Linked DNA regions of Homo sapiens: all the other regions are linked to region 3. The links are contacts of gene promoters, found by promoter capture Hi-C in blood cells and fetal thymus (Javierre and others, 2016). All regions are on one chromosome and are shown on one strand. The core of a region is centred on a gene start or on the middle of the fragment in contact, and the rest is flanking DNA. Distances in the headings are between cores, read along the strand shown.

Evidence for each region. The method cuts DNA at HindIII sites, captures the fragments that hold promoters and counts their contacts. A CHiCAGO score of 5 or more calls a contact.
Region 1: a contact is called between a fragment that was not itself captured here and the fragment with the promoter of GAB1 in region 3, in 3 of 17 cell types (neutrophils, naive B cells and total B cells). The highest score is 12.5, in neutrophils.
Region 2: a fragment that was not itself captured here is called in contact with the fragment with the promoter of GAB1 in region 3 in 2 of 17 cell types (neutrophils and total B cells); the score reaches 10.9 in neutrophils.

The regions. Positions count from the first base shown.
Region 1 is chr4:143,386,444-143,389,256 of GRCh38, forward strand. The region is part of intron 1 of GAB1 (GRB2 associated binding protein 1); the gene reads left to right. Among named protein-coding and RNA genes, the nearest start is that of MIR3139, 44 kb to the left of the region's middle. The HindIII fragment of the contact is 4,162 bases long and covers 1-2,813 here.
Region 2 is chr4:143,369,002-143,371,746 of GRCh38, forward strand. The region is part of intron 1 of GAB1 (GRB2 associated binding protein 1); the gene reads left to right. Among named protein-coding and RNA genes, the nearest start is that of MIR3139, 27 kb to the left of the region's middle. The HindIII fragment of the contact is 3,961 bases long and covers 1-2,745 here.
Region 3 is chr4:143,335,183-143,338,252 of GRCh38, forward strand. It overlaps GAB1 (GRB2 associated binding protein 1), which reads left to right and starts at 1,694. Exons shown (of 10, transcript NM_002039.4): 1 at 1,694-2,078. The coding sequence starts at 2,007. It also overlaps the pseudogene LOC124900789. RefSeq lists enhancers at 501-710, 1,620-2,433 and silencers at 903-1,070, 1,011-1,310, 1,411-1,470, 1,541-1,590. The HindIII fragment of the contact is 8,165 bases long and covers 1-3,070 here.

The sequences.
Region 1 (2,813 bases), core at 87-2,586, 51 kb after region 3:
GTGGTGTGATCATGGTTCACTGTAGCTTTGACCTCTTGGGCACAAGTGATTCTCCCACTTCAGCCTCCCCAGTAGCTGGGACTAAAGGCATGCACTACCATGCCCAACTAATTTTTTGATTTTTTATAGGGATGAAGTCTTGCTACATTGCCCAGGCTAGTTTCAAACTTCTGGGCTCAAGCAATCCATCTACCTCACCTTCCCAAAATGCTAGGTTTACAGGCATGAGCCACTGCGCCTGGCCCAATTTTATACAATATTTTAAATAATTTTGTATATGAAACAAATTTTGATTGTGTTTTGACTGCAACCTGTCAAATGAGGTCAGGTATGTGAATTCTCATTTGTAGTGTTGTGTCAGTGCCCAGAAAGTGTCAGATTTTAGAAGATTTTGGATTTTCAGATTAGTAATACACAACATGTAGTTGCTGCAGAGATCATATGGCCTGCAAAACCTAAAGTATTTATTATCTTGCCCTTTACAGAAGATTTTTTTGTTGATGTCTACTGTAGACAATGGGGAAATGAACATGGGAGGAGCAACTGGTAGTCTCTGCCACAGTAAAGAGAATGATAAGAAGGGTGAATCACTGCCTTTGAAATGTAGAGTTAGAACTTTGTACTTAGGCATACTAGTGGCCCATGGGGCAGTGAGTTGGTATGCAGGTGATTGGTTTTTTGTTGTTGTTGTTTGTTTGTTTGTTTGAGACAGAGTTTCGCTCTTTTTGCCCAGACTGGAATGCAATGATGCTATCTTGGCTCATCACAACCTCTGCCTCCTGGGTTCAAGCAATTCTCCTGCCTCAGCCTCCCAAGTAGCTGGGATTACAGGCATGCGCCACCACGCCCGGCTAATTTTGTATTTTTAATAGAGACAGGATTTCTCCATGTTGGTCAGGCTGGTCTCAAACTCCCAACCTCAGGTGATCCACCTGCCTTGGACTCCCAAAGCACTGGGATAACAGGCGTGAGCCACCATGCCTGGCAAGTGATTGTTGAAGAAGCAATGTTCAGGGACAGATTTGAGGAGCCAGGCATGAAGTAGCCTGGTGGAGGTAAAGGGATGAAGGCACAGAAGGCTGCTTACTGACGTGAGCTTCCATCTTTAAAGTGGAGCATCCTAACTCCTGGACTTTTCCCTCTTCCTGCAGCTCACTGCTCTGTCTTGCATTCGATTCTTGCTTATCAGCAGTGCCACCCCTGTAGGTCAGACTCTTTCCTCCCATTGACTTCTTACGGGTCTCCCTGCCTGGACATTCACCCTCCTCCACAGTCACCTCCTCTAAGTGTGGCTCTTATATTAGTCCCATCTCAAGAACTTCCAAGGAGTCCCTGTTACCTACTCAGTAAAGCCAAGCCTCTAAGGTCCTCCCGCTCCTTGATCCTGATCTTGATCCTATCCTGTCTTCCTTCACAGTCTTACACACACCCTAGATTCCAGCCCAACAGAAACACCTTGTGCCTGCGCTGTACTTTGCCACCACCACGTATTTGCTGTTGTCTCCTTGCTTCTGTCCAAAGGGTTTGGGGATTTGGGACTATGGCTTAGCACATGGTAGAACATTCATGGCTGGGCAGAGGGGGTTTCTGACTTTGTTTTGGCATCTCTCTACATCTGTATTTCCCTCTCCAGCCCCTACCCCCTTCCCTTACAACCTAAGGATAAGCGCTCCCTTTTTGAATGCTCCCTTTTTTAATTATACCAAGTACTATATATAACTCCCAAGGCACTTACTGCTTTCTGTGTGGGATTATAGTTATTCCATGTATGTTTCTAATCTTCTTGCAGAGAAAGAATCTGAGGCCAAGTCCAGATCTGACTGATCAGTTTCATCTAGTAGGTGCCTAGTGGCTATTTTGTTGATCAGTGTTGCAATGATGGTGTCTACAAACAGTGCTACCTACAATTTAGTGTGTTTCACTAAAAATGTAACTTAACACCTGGAGGAATTTAAGTGCAAATGCAAATAGAGGTTTTTTTGTGTGTGCGAGACAGAGTCTCGCTCTGTCGCCCAGGCTGGAGAGCAGTAGAGCGATCTCGGCTCACTGCAACCTCCACCTCCCAGGTTCAAGGAATTCTCCTGCCTCAGCTTCCCGAGTAGCTGGCATTACAGACGTGCGTCAACACGCCCAGCTAATTTTTGTATTTTTGGTAGAGATGGGGCTTCACCATGTTGGCCAGGCTGGTCTCGAACTCCCGACCTCAGGTGATCCGCCCACCTCCACCTCCCAAAGTTCTGGGATTATAGGCATGAGTCACTGCGCCCGGCCTAGAGTTCTAATAATTGTGTTGAAAATAAATGCCACTTAAGATCTTAAAAACACCAATTTTTAGGTAGTTTTTAGCAGAAAAGAAAAAAAAATCTATTTAACTGTTTTCTTCAGACCTGAAGCAGTATTTAAATACATTCATATTTAGAAGTTTTAAACAGTTCCTTGAAAAGCCAAGGCTGAGCCAGAAATCAGGCAGAGCTTTTGCAAGGCATAAGGAGGAGCATGTGGGCAGAAACCCCTGTGAGTGCAAGAGGTGGGCCACCTGCAGGAAAACTGCCCAGTCCACTCTGCAGAGAAGGATTGGAGCATTTTCTACACCAGCCTGCCAGGGACACACCTGACTGCACAAAGATCCATCTAAAATCACTCACATTATACTCACAGAAGGTGGTATTTTCACAGCTTCATCTTTCCGCAGTTGGTAATCAAATGTAAGAAGAGCTTTTATTTTTATAGGAATGATTTAGCTTATGGAGTACCAATCTCATCCTTTTCCTTCCTCTGTCTTTTTAACCAAGCATAGAATGAGGAGACCAATG
Region 2 (2,745 bases), core at 190-2,689, 34 kb after region 3:
TGATCTCAGCTCATTGCAACCTCTACCTTCTGGGTTCAAGCAATTCTCCAGCCTCAGCCCCCCGAGTAGCTAGGATTACAGGTGTGCACCACCACGCTCAGGTAATTGTTTTATTTTTTAGTAGAGACGGGGTTTTGCCGTGTTGGCCAGGCTGGTCTCAAACTCCTGGCCTCAGGTGATCCACCCACCTTGGCCTCCCGGAGTGCTGGGATTACAGTTATGAGCCACCGCACCCGGCCATTTTTTTGTATTTTTAGTAGAGATGAGGTTTCACCATGTTGGCCAGGTTGGTCTCAAACTCCTGACCTCAAGTGATCTGCCTGCCTCAGCCTCCCAAAGTGCTGGGATTACAGGTGTGAACAACCGCAGCTGGCCAAGAAATACCAGCTCTTACCAAGCACTTTAATTCATTTAGTTTTTCACTCTGGCTACAGTGAGAAAAGACAATGTTTTTACACTTGATATACTTTTTATAAGAAAAAATCAATGCAGGATGAAAATATCCTGTTGCTCTAGTAATTCCCACAGAAGGTCAGCCTCAATAATAGAAGATGAAAAAAGTTTTGTGGTGTTTGCTGTTTTATAAACTCATATTTGGAGAAGGAACACAATATATATATGATTTCCTCATAACTGCTGTTGGTGCCCCAGATTTGATATTGTTGCATGATAACCTGACATTGCTTCCTGCTTCTGAAGGAATGATTGGATTTGAAGCCAACATGCTTGCTAAACCGGGAAGCTGCTATTACAGAAGGCACAGGAAGTCAAGCTGCCTATGCAGTTGTGCTGAGACATGAGACTCATACGTTGTGACCCGTGCCTATTGTATGTCTCCCCATCTTTATAACTGCTTTTGAAAACTGGCTTCAAATAAGCAAAAGGCCTAGTGTTATTTCCATAGCAGCACTAAAATTAATGAATAAGAGTTACAGAGTTGGCTGAATATAAAGGAGATATGTCTAACAATTACAGTTCTCCAAAACCTAGTGTGCTCCCTCTTTGTCCTTGTAAGTGGTCAAACAAAAATGGCATAAGCACTCACTTAGGTGTTGCATTGGTCAGGGACCTGGTGGGAGGCGGATGGCACACACAAGTTGGATAATTTGGGGAACATTTCATAAAAAGACAGTAAAAATGTAGGGTATAGTAAGAATATACAAGGGCAAGTAAAAGGGTATGGGGCAAGGGCTAATATCTGTACGTGAGGAAGAAAGAGGAGGAAATGTTATCAAACCACTGGCTGTGTACAAATGGCTGCCTTATAGGAGCTGAGGTCTGCAGTCAAGGGAGACTGTCCACTGAGAACATACAGGGACACAGCCAGCAGTTCTGTTCCCTGACCCTGGGCTCTTCTGTCTCCAGCCATTGTCCCTTTTGACTAAACACAACCAGTGTAGAACAAGGATTGTTGCAGTCCTTGACAGATCAGACTCTTCAGGCTCAAAGAGTACAAATAGGTGGGGAGTAGATTGGAGTTAAGTGGAAACAGTCCTGTGCAGATGTTATAGTGAGTGGGATATCCCTGCTGTCCTCATTGATAGTACAGAACTCTTTTTTTTTTAAATTAAAGTTCTAGGGTACATGTGCACAACGTGCAAGTTTGTTACATATGTATACGTGTGCCATGTTGGTGTGCTGCACCCATTAACTCGTCATTTACATTAGGTATATCTCCTAATGCTATCTCTCCCCGCTCCCCTGACCCCACAACAGGCCCCGGGGTGTGATGTTCCCTGCCCTGTGTCCACATGTTCTCATTGTTCAGTTCCCACCTATGAGTGAGAACATGCAGTGTTTGGTTTTCTGTCCTTGCGATAGTTTGCTCAGAATGATGGTTTCCAGCTTCATCCATGTCACTACAAAGGACATGAACTCATCCTTTTTTATGGCTGCATAGTATTCCATGGTGTATATGTGCCACATTTTCTTAATCTAGTCTATCATTGATGGACATTTGGGTTGGTTCCAAGTCTTTACTATTGTGAATAGTGACGCAATAAACATATGTCCGCATGTGTCTTTATAGCAGCATGATTTATATTCCTTTGGGTATATACCCAGTAATGGGATGGCTGGGTCAAATGGTATTTCTAGTTCTAGATCCCTGAGGAATCGCCACACTGACTTCCACAATGGTTGAACTAGTTTACAGTCCCACCAACAGTGGAAAAGTGTTCCTATTTCTCCACATCCTCTCCAGCACCTGTTGTTTCCTGACTTTTTAATGATCGCCATTCTAACTGGTGTGAGATGGTATCTCATTGTGGTTTTGATTTGCATTTCTCTGATGGCCAGTGATGATGAGCATTTTTTCATGTGTCTGTTGGCTGCATAAATGTCTCCTTTTGAGAAGTGTCTGTTCATATCCTTCACCCACTTTTTGATGGGGTTGTTTGATTTTTTCTTGTAAATTTGTTTAAGTTCTTTGTAGATTCTGGATATTTGCCCTTTGTCCGATGGGTAGATTGTAAAAATTTTCTCCCATTCTGTAGGTTGCCTGTTCACTCTGATGGTAGTTTCTTTTGCTGTGCAGAAGCTCTTTAGTTTAATTAGATCCCATTTGTCAATTTTGGCTTTTGTTGCCATTGCTTTTGGTGTTTTAGTCTTGAAGTCCTTGCCCATGCCTATGTTCTGAATGGTATTGCGTAGGTTTTCTTCTAGGGTTTTTATGGTTTTAGGTCTAACATTTAAGTCTTTAATCCATCTTGAATTAATTTTTGTATAAGGTGTGAGGAAGGGATC
Region 3 (3,070 bases), core at 444-2,943:
AGGCAAATAGAACTAGGGTACCCAGTAAATTTCCTTCCTTCCTTCTTTCTCTCTCTCTCTCTTTTTTTTTTTTTTTTTTTTTGACGGAGTTTTGCTCTTGTTGCCCAGGCTGGAGCGCAGTGTCGCGATCTCGGCTCACCGCAATCTCCGCCTCCCGGGTTCAAGCTATTTTCCTGTCTCAGCCTCCCGAGTAGCTGGGATTATAGGCGCGCGCCACTACGCCCGGCTAATTTTTGTATTTTTAGTAGAGATTGGGTTTCTCCATGTTGGTCAGGCTGGTCTTGAACTCCCGACCTCAGTTGATCCGCCCGCCTCGGCCTCCCAAAGTGCTGGGATTACAGGCGTGAGCCACCGCGCCCGGCCAAGTGTCCCTCTTCTAGTCCAGCATCCGAACAGTAGATTTCAAACAAATACAAAGTTAAGTGGAATAGGCAACAAATGGAAGGGGTGTGAGACTTCAAAATGTCTCAGAGATAGGACCCAACCAAATCCTTGGCCTCGCCAAGCGCCCCCATCACTCTGGCAGAACAGCTCCAGAGACCAGCCCTGGCCAGCCCTGGGTCCCCATCTGTCCTCCCCTCCAAGCTGGTAGCTCCCGCGCCCTCTTGGTCTGTCCTTTAATCTCGCGCGGCGGGGACCGGCAGGATGGTGGTCTCCCCGCGGTTTTGCCTTTCAGGCTCTCAAGTAAAGAAAACCCTCGAAACTCCTGATCTCGAGCACAGCACAAGCTCCGAGCTGGCACCGGGCTGAGTCAAGATGGCAAGCCCCGGACTGAACATTCGAATGTCCCTCAGTCTTCCCCGCGCCCAAGCCCCGGTGCCTCTGCCCTAGCCGAGGCCTCTGCGGTCTTCCCGGGCGAGGAGCCGATTGGGGGCCGCCGGACGGCGGAGGACCCTGCTCCTGCTTCCCGAACTACAGATCCCAGGGTGCCTCTCGGACTCGCGCTCCCTCCCTCCCTTGCTCCCTCCCTTCGTCCGTCTCCTCCCCCGGCCCTTGTTGTTTTGGCTGGAAGCACTCCGGCGGAGTTTCAGAGAAAGTCTGGGCAGAAACCGGAGCCGGGCCTGAACGTGGGAAGGGGAGGAGGAGAGGGAGGAAGAAGGAGCCCGGCGGCCGGGAGAGGGAGGGAGGGATCGGGATCTGGGGCCGAGCCGCTCAGGACCTGCCGCGAGCCCCGGGGTGGGGGAGGCGGCGGGGGAGGAGCGCGAGGGGACGGGACAGCGGGATCCCTCCCAGGAGCCAAGCCGCCAAGCGCCTCGTTCCTCTGCTGCTCCCCGCCCTCTTCGGCGGCCGCGAGAGCGGACCCACCCTCCGGCTTGACCTGCGACCTCCCTGCGCCCGCCGCTCAGAAACGCCCCGCGCTTCGCTGCCAACCCTGCGGCTCCCTCTGTGACCCGGGACCAGCCCCGCGCCCGCTGCCCGTAGGCGGCTCGCGGCTTCCCCTTTCCTCGGCGTTCACCGAGCGCCGCGAAGTGACCCACCCTCCCCCGAGGAGAGGGAAGGAGGATCGCTCCGGGCGCATCGAAACCGAGGGCGGGTGGGCGGGCGAGCGGGCACCGCGCGGGGCATTGTGTGTGTGTGTGTGTGTGTGTGTGTGTGTGAGCAGCGCTGTGTCTGTTTCGGAAAGCGCTCTGGGGAGGTCTTGTCCCTAGGGGGCGGAGCGCAAAGGACAGAAGCTCCGGCACCGAGTCGGGGCAGAGTCCCGCTGAGTCCGAGCGCTGCTGAGGCAGCTGGCGAGACGGCACGTCTGGAGGCGAGGCGGGCGCACTGAAAGGAGGCCGGCGCGCCCGCGGCCCCGGCTCGCGTTCTGTTCAGGTTCGTGGGCCTGCAGAGGAGAGACTCGAACTCGTGGAACCCGCGCACCGTGGAGTCTGTCCGCCCAGTCCGTCCGGGGTGCGCGACCAGGAGAGCTAGGTTCTCGCCACTGCGCGCTCGGCAGGCGTCGGCTGTGTCGGGAGCGCGCCCGCCGCCCCTCAGCTGCCCGGCCCGGAGCCCGAGACGCGCGCACCATGAGCGGTGGTGAAGTGGTCTGCTCCGGATGGCTCCGCAAGTCCCCCCCGGAGAAAAAGTTGAAGCGTTATGTAAGTAGAGCTGCGGGCACCACTCCGCGGGCCTCGGCGTCCACACCCCTCCCCAGTCGGCTCGCCGGCGGCTGCAGCTGGCCGCGCGCGGGGCTGGTTCTTAAACGAATGCCGGTCTCTTTCCCCTTGGCCCCTACCCCTGGCGGGCTCGGGACAGGGTGCCTTGCACTCCCTCACGCCCAGGCATCCACTTGGCCGGACAACTTTCTTCCTCCAGGTTCCAGACAGCCTGCTTTGCGGGCCTGTTCGCCCCATAAAAGGACCTAGACGTCCAGCTAAACTCCTGCTGCATGCTTTTTTTCTTCCTTAGGAAGGATGGGGTGCGATGGAGAGAGGAGCCTTCTTCCTGCTTTATTCCTGCATCTGATTATTGGGCTGATGTGTGCTAAAGCTCCCGCACCGGGAAAACTGCCGAGGTTTTAGGGCTCACTAGCCCTTTCTTTGGTGGGCGCTCCCTCTCCTCCGCCCCTCGAGATGGGTTGCGGGAAGCGGGCTGTGGAGCTGAGGAGTTGGTAGTAGAGACAAGCATATCGAACGCGCGCAAAAGGGAAAGAAAGAAAAGTTATTACGCGCCCTGCCGTTTGCTTAGCAGGGTTCACATTTTCGCGGTTTTGAATTGAGGGACTTTGGAGTTTGGCCCGGGAGCCTTGGCGGTTTGCTGCGAGAGGAGGGCGCTGGGGGGGAGCCTAGTGGCTGGTGTTTGGGCGCCTTGGATGTGCTGTCAAACTCGGCAGGAGGGGACAGCTGAAGCCAGAAGGGATTTCAGTTGCGGTCCTTTCCCAGGGAACCAGAGTGGCTTTAATGGTGTTTGTGTAATTGATACAAGATGCTATGTGTTAAACCGTTTTAGCTGTTAGGAAAAATATTCCTTGAAAGTATCAACCTTGCTTTAGTGGAAACCTGTGTCCTCTTCAGAGGTCTGGGATCTTATTCTTCCTCCCCATTGGTTGTTTTGTTGCTGCTCCCTTGCAAAGGAAAGAAATGACACTTTT